3 separate regions of the Homo sapiens genome follow, and all the other regions are linked to region 1. The links are contacts of gene promoters, found by promoter capture Hi-C in human tissues and cell types (Jung and others, 2019). All regions are on one chromosome and are shown on one strand. The core of a region is centred on a gene start or on the middle of the fragment in contact, and the rest is flanking DNA. Distances in the headings are between cores, read along the strand shown.

Region 1 (3,474 bases), core at 674-3,173:
ACCCGGGAGGTGGAGGTTGCGGTGAGCTGACATTGCACCATTGCACTCCAGCCTGGGCAAAAAGAGCAAAACTCCGTCTCAAACAAACAAACAAAAAAAAGATATTGATCTTGTAAGTGCTCTTTCACAATTCCTTTTATGATAATGTTTTAACTAGGTTTGCAAATTAAATCCAAATTTTAATTTGGATGCGCAAATTAAAATCTCAAATTTCTCAGGTCAATTCCTTGGGGTTTTTTGTTGTTTGTTTGATTGTTTATTTTCGCTTTTGTTTGTTTGTTGAGAGGGAGCCTCGCTCTGTCGCTCAGGCTGGAGTGCAGTGGCATGATCTCAGCTCATTACAACCTCCACCTTCCATGTTCAAGTGATTCTCCCACCTCAGCTTCCCAAGTAGCTGGGACTACAGGCGCCTGCCACCACACCCGGCTAATTTTTGTTTTTTAGTAGAGATGGGGTTTCACCATGTTGGCCAGGCTGGTCTCGAACTCCTGACCTCAGGTGATCTGCCCACCCTGGCCTCCCAAAGTGCTGGGATTACAGGTGTGAGCCACCATGCCCTGCCTCTTTGTTTTAAATGACAAGGATTTCATTTCATATTTAAACTGCTGTAACACAAGGGACAAGGAAAAGTGAAAAGAATTTTGTTTCTCTAGAGAAAAAAAAAGGCTAGGCGGTACATTAAACTTGGATGGCAGCCTGTCATGGAACCTGGGGATTGGTCACATTGGCCAGTACTTTCTCTAACCCAGAGATCAAAACCTGATCTGCCACCACTGCTGGGAATGGAGTCAGTCCTGGTTTCAGCTATAGCTGACACCATCAGCTTCAATCTGAGCCAATCTACTTTCTGCCTTTCTTCTAGTAGACAGCGAGAGTTCAAGCCAGCCTAGTTCTCAACAGCATCATCTGCTAACATTTATCATCTCCCCCACTTCCCTCTCACACAATAAGGTAGGCACTGGGGAAGGTAGCACAGTCCCTGCCTTCAAAGTGCTTACAATCTTGGTGCTTACAATAAAAATGCCGATCAAGTGAATATGTCACTAGAAGGCAGCACATGAGAAATTAATATGAAGATGGCCGGACACAGTGGCTCATGCCTGTAATCTGAGCACTTTGAGAGAAGGTGGGTGGATCACCTGAGGTCAGGAGTTCAAGACCAGCCTGGTCAACATGGTGAAACCCCATCTGTACTAAAAAACAAACAAACAAAGAAAAAATATATACAAAAAATTAGCCAGGCATGGAGGCGGGCGCCTGTAATCCCAGCTACTTGGGAAGCTGAGGCAGGAGAATGGCTTGAACCTGGGAGGCGGGTTACAATGAGCCAAGATTGCGCCACTGCACTCCAGCCTGGGCGACAGAGTGGGACTGCATCTCAAAAAAGAAAGAAAGAAATATGAAGATGAATGTTTTGAGAGTCTGGGGAAAGTGAAGTTCACTATGAGCTGAGCTGGTGGAAATGGCTTCCTGAATGAAGGAAATCCATGGTGCCTTCTCCATTTTGTGGGAGGCACTGGTTTAGAGAGTGGTTAAGGACATAAACTGCAAAGCCAGGCTGCATTGTTTGAACAAGCTCAGCTCTGCCAGTAACGAGCTGTGTGACCAGGGCAGAGTACCTAGCCTCTCTGTGCCTAGGTCGCCTCCTCCCTAAAATTAGGACAATAGTAATTATGTCTCCCTCATAGACTTGTGGGGAGTATAAAATGCCTTAAGCTAAATGAAGCACATGGCATATAATGAAGGCTAATGGGGGCTTCGGACCATTGTTCTTTATGACACGGTTTCTTGAGACCGAGGCATGTACAAGCCAGTGCACAGAATCGTGTCTATGTAATTAGTTAATTCTGTCTGGGAGGAGTGTGTGTGTTTAAGACAGTGCCTGGGATGACTTATAATGTAATCTTTAGGCAAAACGCTTTGTAATTGGTGCAGCTCTGAGAACACACGCATGCATTCCAGGCGGTGCTGCTGGGGCTCGGCGGGGCCGTGTCTGGTCTGCAAGGCGCGCGGGCTCGTGGGGGGTTGGCTGGGGAGCCCACGCTGCCTGGCGACTCGGGCCACCGAATGTGAGACCGAGTCCCTTTATGTCACCAGCGCACACGCTGATTTGAACCCTGCTTCGACGTGTGTGTCATGGCTTAAAAATAGCTGCTAATCTGTCAACCTGTCTTGGGCAGAAACAGCGGCGGCGACAGCAGCAGGAGCGTCATGGCCGTGGCGCTGTCTGCGCCGGCGATCCGCCTTTCGGACTGAGGCCCAGCGCAGCGCTTGCAAAGAGGTAGAGGGGCTGCGGCGGGCCTTCGCCTTTTCAGCTGGCTCTCCACGCTGGGGAGAGGCGCCCAGCTAGGGGCGACGGGGGAGGGAGGGGACCGGGAAGCGGGCACCCGAGCCCAGCGAGCCAGCCTCTCTCTCCCGGGCGCCCTCCCTCCGCGCGCGGGGCCCGGCTGCCAGGCTGGCGAGGACTGGGGCGACAGCCATGGACCTGTTACAAAGGCGACCGCAGGCGGAGGGAGGGAGCGGCGGGCCAGGGCCCCTGGAGCCGACGGATGGGATTGGAGAATGCCCAGGGCTGTATCCCTGGACAGAAAGGGGCTTCTGCATCCCCCGGGAAAAACAGCCCCACGGAGATCCTTCTTAGACCTGGGCTCCTTCACGCTTCCCCCATCCCATTCATCATCTCGTAGACAGCAGACTCTCTAAGAGGAAAGGTTGTATTGCAATACAGTAATGGGGTCTTTAGGCCTGGGTGCAAAGGTAGAAGAAGATGATGGTGATAGTGATGGTGGTGATGGTGGTAGTGATGATGGTGATGGTGGTGGTGATGATGGCTGTAGTGCTATATTTCTGTGCTCCTTCCGGACCCAGCCATTGAAAACTCTCTCTCCCTAAACTCCCTAACATCCAATCTTCCCTCACCAATCCTGGTCCTAAAACCCCTGCTTCTAATGCCTTGTAAGTGCTTGGTTTCTCTTGGCACTGGAGCAAGGGAGAGCTGGGCCCTGTCTAGGGGTGTGAGATGGGGACAGAGCATGGGCAGGGACAAAGATGGCCTCTCACTGCTGGTCATAGAGTTGAAGTCCCCCTGGCAGGAGGCCAGGAAGGGAGTGGAAGGGGATTCTGCAGGCTCCAGGACCTCCTGCTTTCAAACAGGCAGGACCACAGGTGTGAGAGGATGGGGAGGGAGGGGGAAGGGGCCTTGCCATTGTTGCCTCCCTGCCTGAAGGTCCCAGGGCAAGCCTCAAACGCTGGTCCTTCCCAGCTCTGCAGCTCAACAGGTAATCTGAGACACACCTGCTAAGCCCCTCGTTATTGACCTCGTGTTTTGTAGGGTCACTTGACTCCAACAGCCATACGGTTGGTAATTCTAAGCCTCTGAGCCCCTGGACCTGGCAGGATCCCTCATTTTTCCCTTTCCTTCCTGCTTTCTAGGCCCCCACCACCCACCCCTGTCCCCCCTCCCCTCAAGACACA
Region 2 (3,474 bases), core at 629-3,128, 63 kb after region 1:
CCTACAAGTGAGCTATGATCACACCACTGCACTCCAGCCTGGGCAAAAGAGTGAGACCCTGTCCCAAAAAAAAAAAAAAAAGGAATAACTCAGATATGAAATCACTTCATATTTATGTATTTATTTATTTATTTGGTATGGCAGGGACAGAGTTTCACTCTTGTCACCCAGGCTGGAGTACAATGGCATGATCTCAGCTCACTGCAACCTCCGCTTCTTGGATTCAAGCAATTCTCCTACCACAGCCTCACGAGTAGCTGGCATTACAGGCGCCTGCCACCACACCCAGCTGATTTTTGTATTTTTAGTAGAGACAGGGTTTCATCATGTTGGCCAGGCTGGTCTCGAACTCCTGACTTCAGGTGATCCACCCATCTTGGCCTCCCAAAGTGCTGGGATTATAGCCATGAGCCACCGCACACAGCCTATTTCATATTTAAAATGTGGTGGCAGTGACAAAGAGTTGACTGCCTCACTTAGCTTTTCTTTCTTTCTTTTTTTTTTTTCGTTGAGACATGATCTGATATGGTTTGGCTGCTCCCCCACCTAAAATCTCATCTTAAATTGTAACCCCTATAATCCCCATAATCCCCGTGTGTCAAGGGCAGGACCAAGTGGAGGTAATTGGATCATGGGGGTGGTTCCCCCATGCTGTTCTCATGATAGTGAGTCTCACGAGATCTGATGGTTGTTTAAGCGTCTGGCATTTCCCGTGCTTGCACTCACTCTGTCCGTCCTGCTGTCCTGTGAAGAAGGTGCCTGCTTTTCCTTTGCCTCCTGCCATGATTGTAAGTTTCCTGAGGCCTCCCCAGCAATGCAGAACTGTGAGTCAATTAAACCTCTTTCCTTTATAAATAACCCAGTCTCGGGTTATTCTTCATAGCAGCATGAGAACAGAGTAACATAGGGTCTCACTCTGTCACCGAGGCTCTGGAGTGCAGTGGCACAGTCATGGCTCACTGCAGCCTCGACCTTCTGGGCTCAGGTGATCCTCGCACCTCAGCCTCCCAAGTAGCTGGGACTACAGGTTTGTACCACCACAGCCAGCTAATTTTTTTATATTTTTTATCGAGACAGGGTCTTGCCATGTTGCCCAGGCTGGGCTCAAGCAGTTCACCTGCCTCGGCCTCCCAAAGTGCTGGGATTACCAGGATGAGTCACCACGCCTGGCCCTCATTTAACTTTTAACCTTGATAAATTGTATGTTGTATGTCAAGGCAAAACGGAAGTGGGGGGGAGGGTGCAGAGGCAAGCATCAGGTGGGTAGAATACCCTCCCTTTATCACACATATTAACATTCCTTGCACAATTACCCAGTGAATATTCTCATTTTGGACTTTTTCCACACCCTAAATTTAGTAAGCTAGAATTATCTTTATTTATTTCTCTCTTTTTTTTTTTCCTAAGTCACTGTGTTTTAGGATAGAATTATCTTTTAAGCACCACTTTAAGCAACCTTTTTGGAAGGAAGAATGCTGACAAGGAGGAGATCTGTGTTTCCTTGTGGTTAGAATGCAATATCCTTAACTTAATCATTCTGCCAAGAAGCTGAGTCTCTTTATATGCTGACAATAGAGCAAAGACAGTAATCCAACACATTCATTACAGGTTTGTAAGATTAAAAATTTATACATTCAGATTGGAAAACATGAGAAACAGACTTGCTGCCAGACCATTAATTCTGGGCATCTCTGCATTCTGTGTTCTGGAAGCTGTGCACATTGAATTGAATAATTGCCTGAAACATGCCAGGGGTTTTCATTATCTAAAGAAGTCTATGTCGAGCCTTTTTACAACTAAAACCTCTCTAAAATGAGACTTAAGGAGTTTTTTACTTAATTTATAGACTTTAAAACACTAAGATCTGCATGTAAATAAGTTTAAGTGAGATGTGCCTATAGAATAAAACAATTAGAAGTAATTTCTTTGGTTTTCTTCTTATTATTATTTTTTAGTAGAGATGGGGGTCTCGATTTTTTGCCCAGGCTGGTGTCAAACTCCTGGCCTCAAGTGATGCTCCTGCCTTGGACTCCCAGATTGCTGGGATTACAGGCATAAGCCCTTGCTCCTGGCCTAGAAGTAATTTATTTAAAGTCTTGTTTACAAAGAGAAATGCACGAAGCACGTACAGAGGAAGAAAGAACAGTTCCAAATGAATGATTTTTGTTCCTAGTATTTGAGGAACAAAAGGTTCACTGACAAGAGTCAGTGATGAAATGTGGCTGTGTTTGGGAAAACATGGGATCTTTCCCTTCTACGCCTCATTATGAGATTAATTTGTAGTGTGGAATAAACAAAGCTAGCCCTGGAATTCAAAGAATGGGTTTTAAACCCAGCTCTGCCTCTAATTAGCCAGGAGACCTCAGCCTAGTTCCTTAATCTCTCTAAGCCTCCTTTTTCTCCTCTGTAAAATGGAGATATAGTAACTGCCTCAGAGTGTGATTAAGAAGAGTACATAAAAAAGTGTATATGAAAGACTTGAAGTCATGCTATTTTTGTTTCTAAAGTCACAGGGGGCAGGGCGCAGTTGTTCACACCTGTAATCTCAGCACCTTGGGAGGCTGAGGCGGGTGGATCACGAGGTCAGGAGATCGAGACCATCCTGGCCAACATGGTGAAACCCCGTCTCTACTGAAAATACAAAAACTAGCCGGGCATGGTGGCATGCGCCTGTAGTCCCAGCTACTCAGGAGGCTGAGGCAGGAGAATCACCTGAATTTGGGAGGCAGAGGTTGCAGTGAGCCGAGATTGCACCAGTGCACTCCAGCCTGGGTGACAAAGCGAGACTCTGTCTCAAAAAAAAATGAATCAATAAAATAAAATAAAAATAAATAAAATAAGGTCATAGGAAGCCATGCAACTAAACAAGGGGACTAAGTGAAAAGTCTGTAAGAAATAAGGAAGTTTGTGTATATCCCTCCCCTGCCATTATCCCAATTAATACAGCTGTCCCTTACTGAGCCTGTACTAAGTCACAAGCACTGCATTCCGGGTTTGCTTTCTTTCACTGGGCAGAGCTGATGCCCACTGAATATACAATTTGTAGAGAAGTCTGATGTGGATGATTGTACTTAGAATCAAACTTCTCAAACTTATTAAACAGCCAACACATATTGAGTGCCTACTACATGCCAGGCATTGTGCCAATGAGCAAGACCAAAATGGCTCCTACTCCCAAGATGTTTACAGTCTAATGGGGGAGATGAAGCCTAAACAAGCATACTCATATATTTAATACATGGACCAACCATCGTAAGGTATCCAGTGACTACCTTCGTAAAACCAGAGGAGAGGGATGGACAAGGAAGGTCTTTTCTGAGCAAGAGACATTTAAGCTCAGAGCACAAGAATGACAAGAGGTAGGGAAAGGCCAGACAGAAGAGTGTATGTAAGAAATTGAGGAAAAAAAAAAAAGAAAGAAATTGAGGGCCGGGGGTGGTGGCTCACGCCTGTAATCCCAGCACTTTGGGAGGC
Region 3 (3,474 bases), core at 703-3,202, 42 kb before region 1:
ACAAAAAAATTAGCTGGGTGTGGTGGCGCACACCTATAGTCCCAGCTACTCAGGAGGCTGAGGCAAAAGAATCACTTGAACCCAGGAGGCAGAGGTTGCAGTGAGCCAAGATCATGCTACTGCACTCCAGTCTGGGCTACAGAGCAAGACTCCATCTCAAAAAAAAATAAAAAAATCTTTCTACGTAAAATCACCTATTATCATAGAGTAAGTAAAATGATAAAACAATTTTAATAAATCTTCAGAAAGATTCTGTGATTTTTTTTTTTTTTTTTTTTTTGAGACAGGGTCTCATTCTCATTATCCAGGCTGGAGTGCAGTGGCACAATCTCGGCTCACTTCAACCTCCACCTCCTGGACTCAAGCAATTCTCCTGCCTCAGCCTCCCAAGTAGCTGGGACTATAGGCGAGCACCACCACGCCCGGCTAATTTTTGTATTTTTAGTGAAGACAGGGTTTCAGTATGTTGGACAAGGTGGTCTAGAACTCCTAACCTCAGGTGATCTGCCTGCTTTGGCCTCCCAAAGAGCTGGAATTACAGGCATGAGCCACCATGCCCGATCAGATTCTGTGATTCTATATTATTTTTTAAGAGTCAGGACCACAGGGTTGCTGGACTCCAGAGAGGCACTGTTCATACAGAATATAATGTAAAGGGCACTGGAACTGAATGAAGTCAAGGAGATTTCCAGGTGCAGCAGTGCACACCCGTAGTCCCAGCTAGTCAGGAGTCTGAGGCAGGAGGGTCACTCCAGCCAAGTAGTTTGAGACCAACCTGGGAAACACAGTGAGACCCTGTCTCTAATAAAAAAAAATATATAAAAACTAAAAAAATCAAAGGGTCTCGCTCTGTCTGGAGTGCAGTGGTGTAGTCATAGCTCAGTGCATCCTCAAATTCCTGAGATCAAGCAATCCTCCCTCCTCAGCCTCCCAAGTAACTGGGATTATAGGCACACACCACCACTCCTGGCCAGTTTTTGTTTTGTTGTGTTGTGTTTTGTTTTGTTTTTGTGGAGATGGGGCCTTGCTATGCTGCCCAGAGTAATCTCCAACTCCTGGGCTTGAGCAATTCTCCTGCCTCGGCCTCCCAAAGCACAGGGATTACAGTTGTGAGCCACCACACTCCACCATGAATATCTTTAGAAGGACCATTTTGAGCCTACCAAAAGGGCCCTCACATACATAGGCTCCTCTCCATAACTAGGAGAGAAGGTTGCCAGAAGCTTCCACTACAGACAGCACCTGCCAGGTCAAAACTGTGGAGGAATTAGAGAAGGAGCTCTACCAATGAGGGCTCTGAAGCCAAGCAGAGCTTTTTTTTTTTTTTTTTTTTTTTTGTGAGACAGAGTCTCACTCTGTCGCCCAGGCTGGAGTGCAGTGGCACAATGTCTCAGCTCACTGCAACTTTCGCCTCCTAGATTAAAGCAATTCTCCTGCCTCAGCCTTCCAAGTAGCTGGGACTACAGGCACACACCACCACACCCGGCTAATTTTTTTGTATTTCTAGTAGAGAAGGGGTTTAGCCATGTTGGCAAGGCTGATCTCGAACTCCTGACCTCAAGTGATCTACCCACCTTTGGCTCCCAAAATGCTGGGATTACAGGCGTGAGCCACCGCGCCTGGCCCCAAGCAGAACTCTTCTAAACCATCAACCATGGAGAGCTCACTAGGATCACCTGTGCTAGAGGAAACGCTGAATTCATTTTCTATACATTATGCAGAAGATGACATCACTCTTGCCGTATAAAGAAGTGCTTCACCTATCAAGAACCAATCTTGTGAAAACATTTTCGGTCTGTCCTTTAGTTAAATTTATAAACATATTTATAGCCTGGAATTGTGACTGATTCGATTGCAGCTTTGTGATGATTTGGGCACGCTGACTCTTGTTCTCAGGATGGTCTGTAGCACACCTTCTCCCAGTTGTCCAATCAAACCCTAGTTGAGGTGCGGCTTTAAGGGGATTTGGCAGACGTAAACAAAGCCCAAAATCCTTGAGTTAATCATGAGAGATAAGGTGTGGGTTGGGCTGACCCAAGCAAGTGGAAACTGTTTAAATAGCCCATGGGAACTCCCTGAGGTTTAGAGATACAGACAGCAAAGGAGAGAGGATCCTCAAAATGACTTATCCATGTCAAACCCTCCAGACTCAGCTCAATGCAAACATCCTACACATGGCAAATGAAAAAGAAAAAAAAAGTCAGAAAATGCCCTGTGATAATTGGTAGCCAATTGAGGCAACATTGGATGAGTTGGATCAGAAGATGAAGCTGAGAGAGAACTTCAGGAAGAAAAGAGGCCAGGGGAGTGTCTCTGGCCCACCTTCAGGATTCCTCATTGGAAATCCTGCTACATCTTAGAGATGTTTCATTAGCAGAAAGCCATCAGCAGAGAACTGTGTGCGTATTATCTGAAAGAAGATTATGCAGATCCAAACCTGACTGCCAAGTGGAAAAGAGACAGTTACAAGGCTTTGTGCTGCCTGTGGTGTGTTCAGACTCAGGATACCAACTTTGGAACCAACTGCATCTGCCAGGTTGTCTAGGGCACCCTTGACATAAGTGACTTCATCTTAGAAAAATACTTTATTTTACATTTCAAAAGGCATTATGCCAACAGGACCAGATGTTTGCCTAATCAATGGAGACAACACCCAACTAGATAAGGGCATATGACCCTTTATTATCAGCCCTCATCCGAGGACTCAAGGGTGATAAGATGAGCCGGACTTCACCAGCCAGCCCTAGCCATCTTGAGAGACCCCGTCTTGCTGGTGCTTGTGATCGACACCTGGCATCTGCCACCCAAGGCTGTGCTCAAATCAAAAACTCTTCCTGCAAGACATTGACAACTGTCTGGATCAGCCCAGGACATCTTCCTTGTCCACATAGCTCTCCCTGGACTGGTTCATTAACCCTTATTCCTATCCCCTTTTCTCTTGATGTTAAATCTTGTTTGATGTGTAATGTTTAATCTATAACGTTTACATATCGATTAAGTATACTGTTAAGAATGGTCTGCAATATTGACTGACTTGTGGAGTGGCTTGAACCTGTGTGCCCATGGCTCTGACTGAGTGAGCAGGTGGTATTTAGGAGAATTGCCTGTGTAGCTTGTGGCTTTTATGATTAAAACAGCATCAGTAAAAGTCTAACCTTGTGGAAAGACTCAAACATACATGGACTTGGTTCTGCCTGTCCTTGCACTGCTCATGATCCGGGTCCCCCAAAGCCAGTGGGAAGCCGGAAGCATGGTGGAGAGGGTGCCCTGTGGCCACAAAAGCTGTTCCTCCAGTGGCCACTCTGGCCCCACTCCCACTTCACCCTGGACTTTGAACTTCCATGATGTCTGGGTCTCCCCAAGCCTCTGGGTCCCTAAAAGTGATCTATGTTGAAGACATCCAGAACTGAGTATGTCATGGTCACCTCCCAAAACACCCCCAGCCCTTCCCAGTAGCAAGGCTGGAACTCTGCT

The links. Contacts are between HindIII fragments. The study calls those that stand out against the background at their distance.
Region 2: a fragment that was not itself captured here is called in contact with the fragment with the promoter of DUSP26 in region 1 in 1 of the 25 tissues and cell types used here (psoas muscle).
Region 3: a contact is called between a fragment that was not itself captured here and the fragment with the promoter of DUSP26 in region 1, in 3 of the 25 tissues and cell types used here (pancreas, spleen and stomach).

What each region holds. Positions count from the first base shown.
Region 1 is chr8:33,598,472-33,601,945 of GRCh38, reverse strand. DUSP26 (dual specificity phosphatase 26) reads left to right here and starts at 1,923. Exons shown (of 4, transcript NM_024025.3): 1 at 1,923-2,281. The HindIII fragment of the contact is 23,069 bases long and covers 1-3,474 here.
Region 2 is chr8:33,534,970-33,538,443 of GRCh38, reverse strand. No RefSeq gene overlaps it. Among named protein-coding and RNA genes, the nearest start is that of SNORD13, 23 kb to the right of the region's middle. RefSeq lists a silencer at 596-796. The HindIII fragment of the contact is 4,604 bases long and covers 1-3,474 here.
Region 3 is chr8:33,640,646-33,644,119 of GRCh38, reverse strand. It overlaps the pseudogene BUD31P1. Among named protein-coding and RNA genes, the nearest start is that of DUSP26, 42 kb to the right of the region's middle. The HindIII fragment of the contact is 8,056 bases long and covers 1-3,474 here.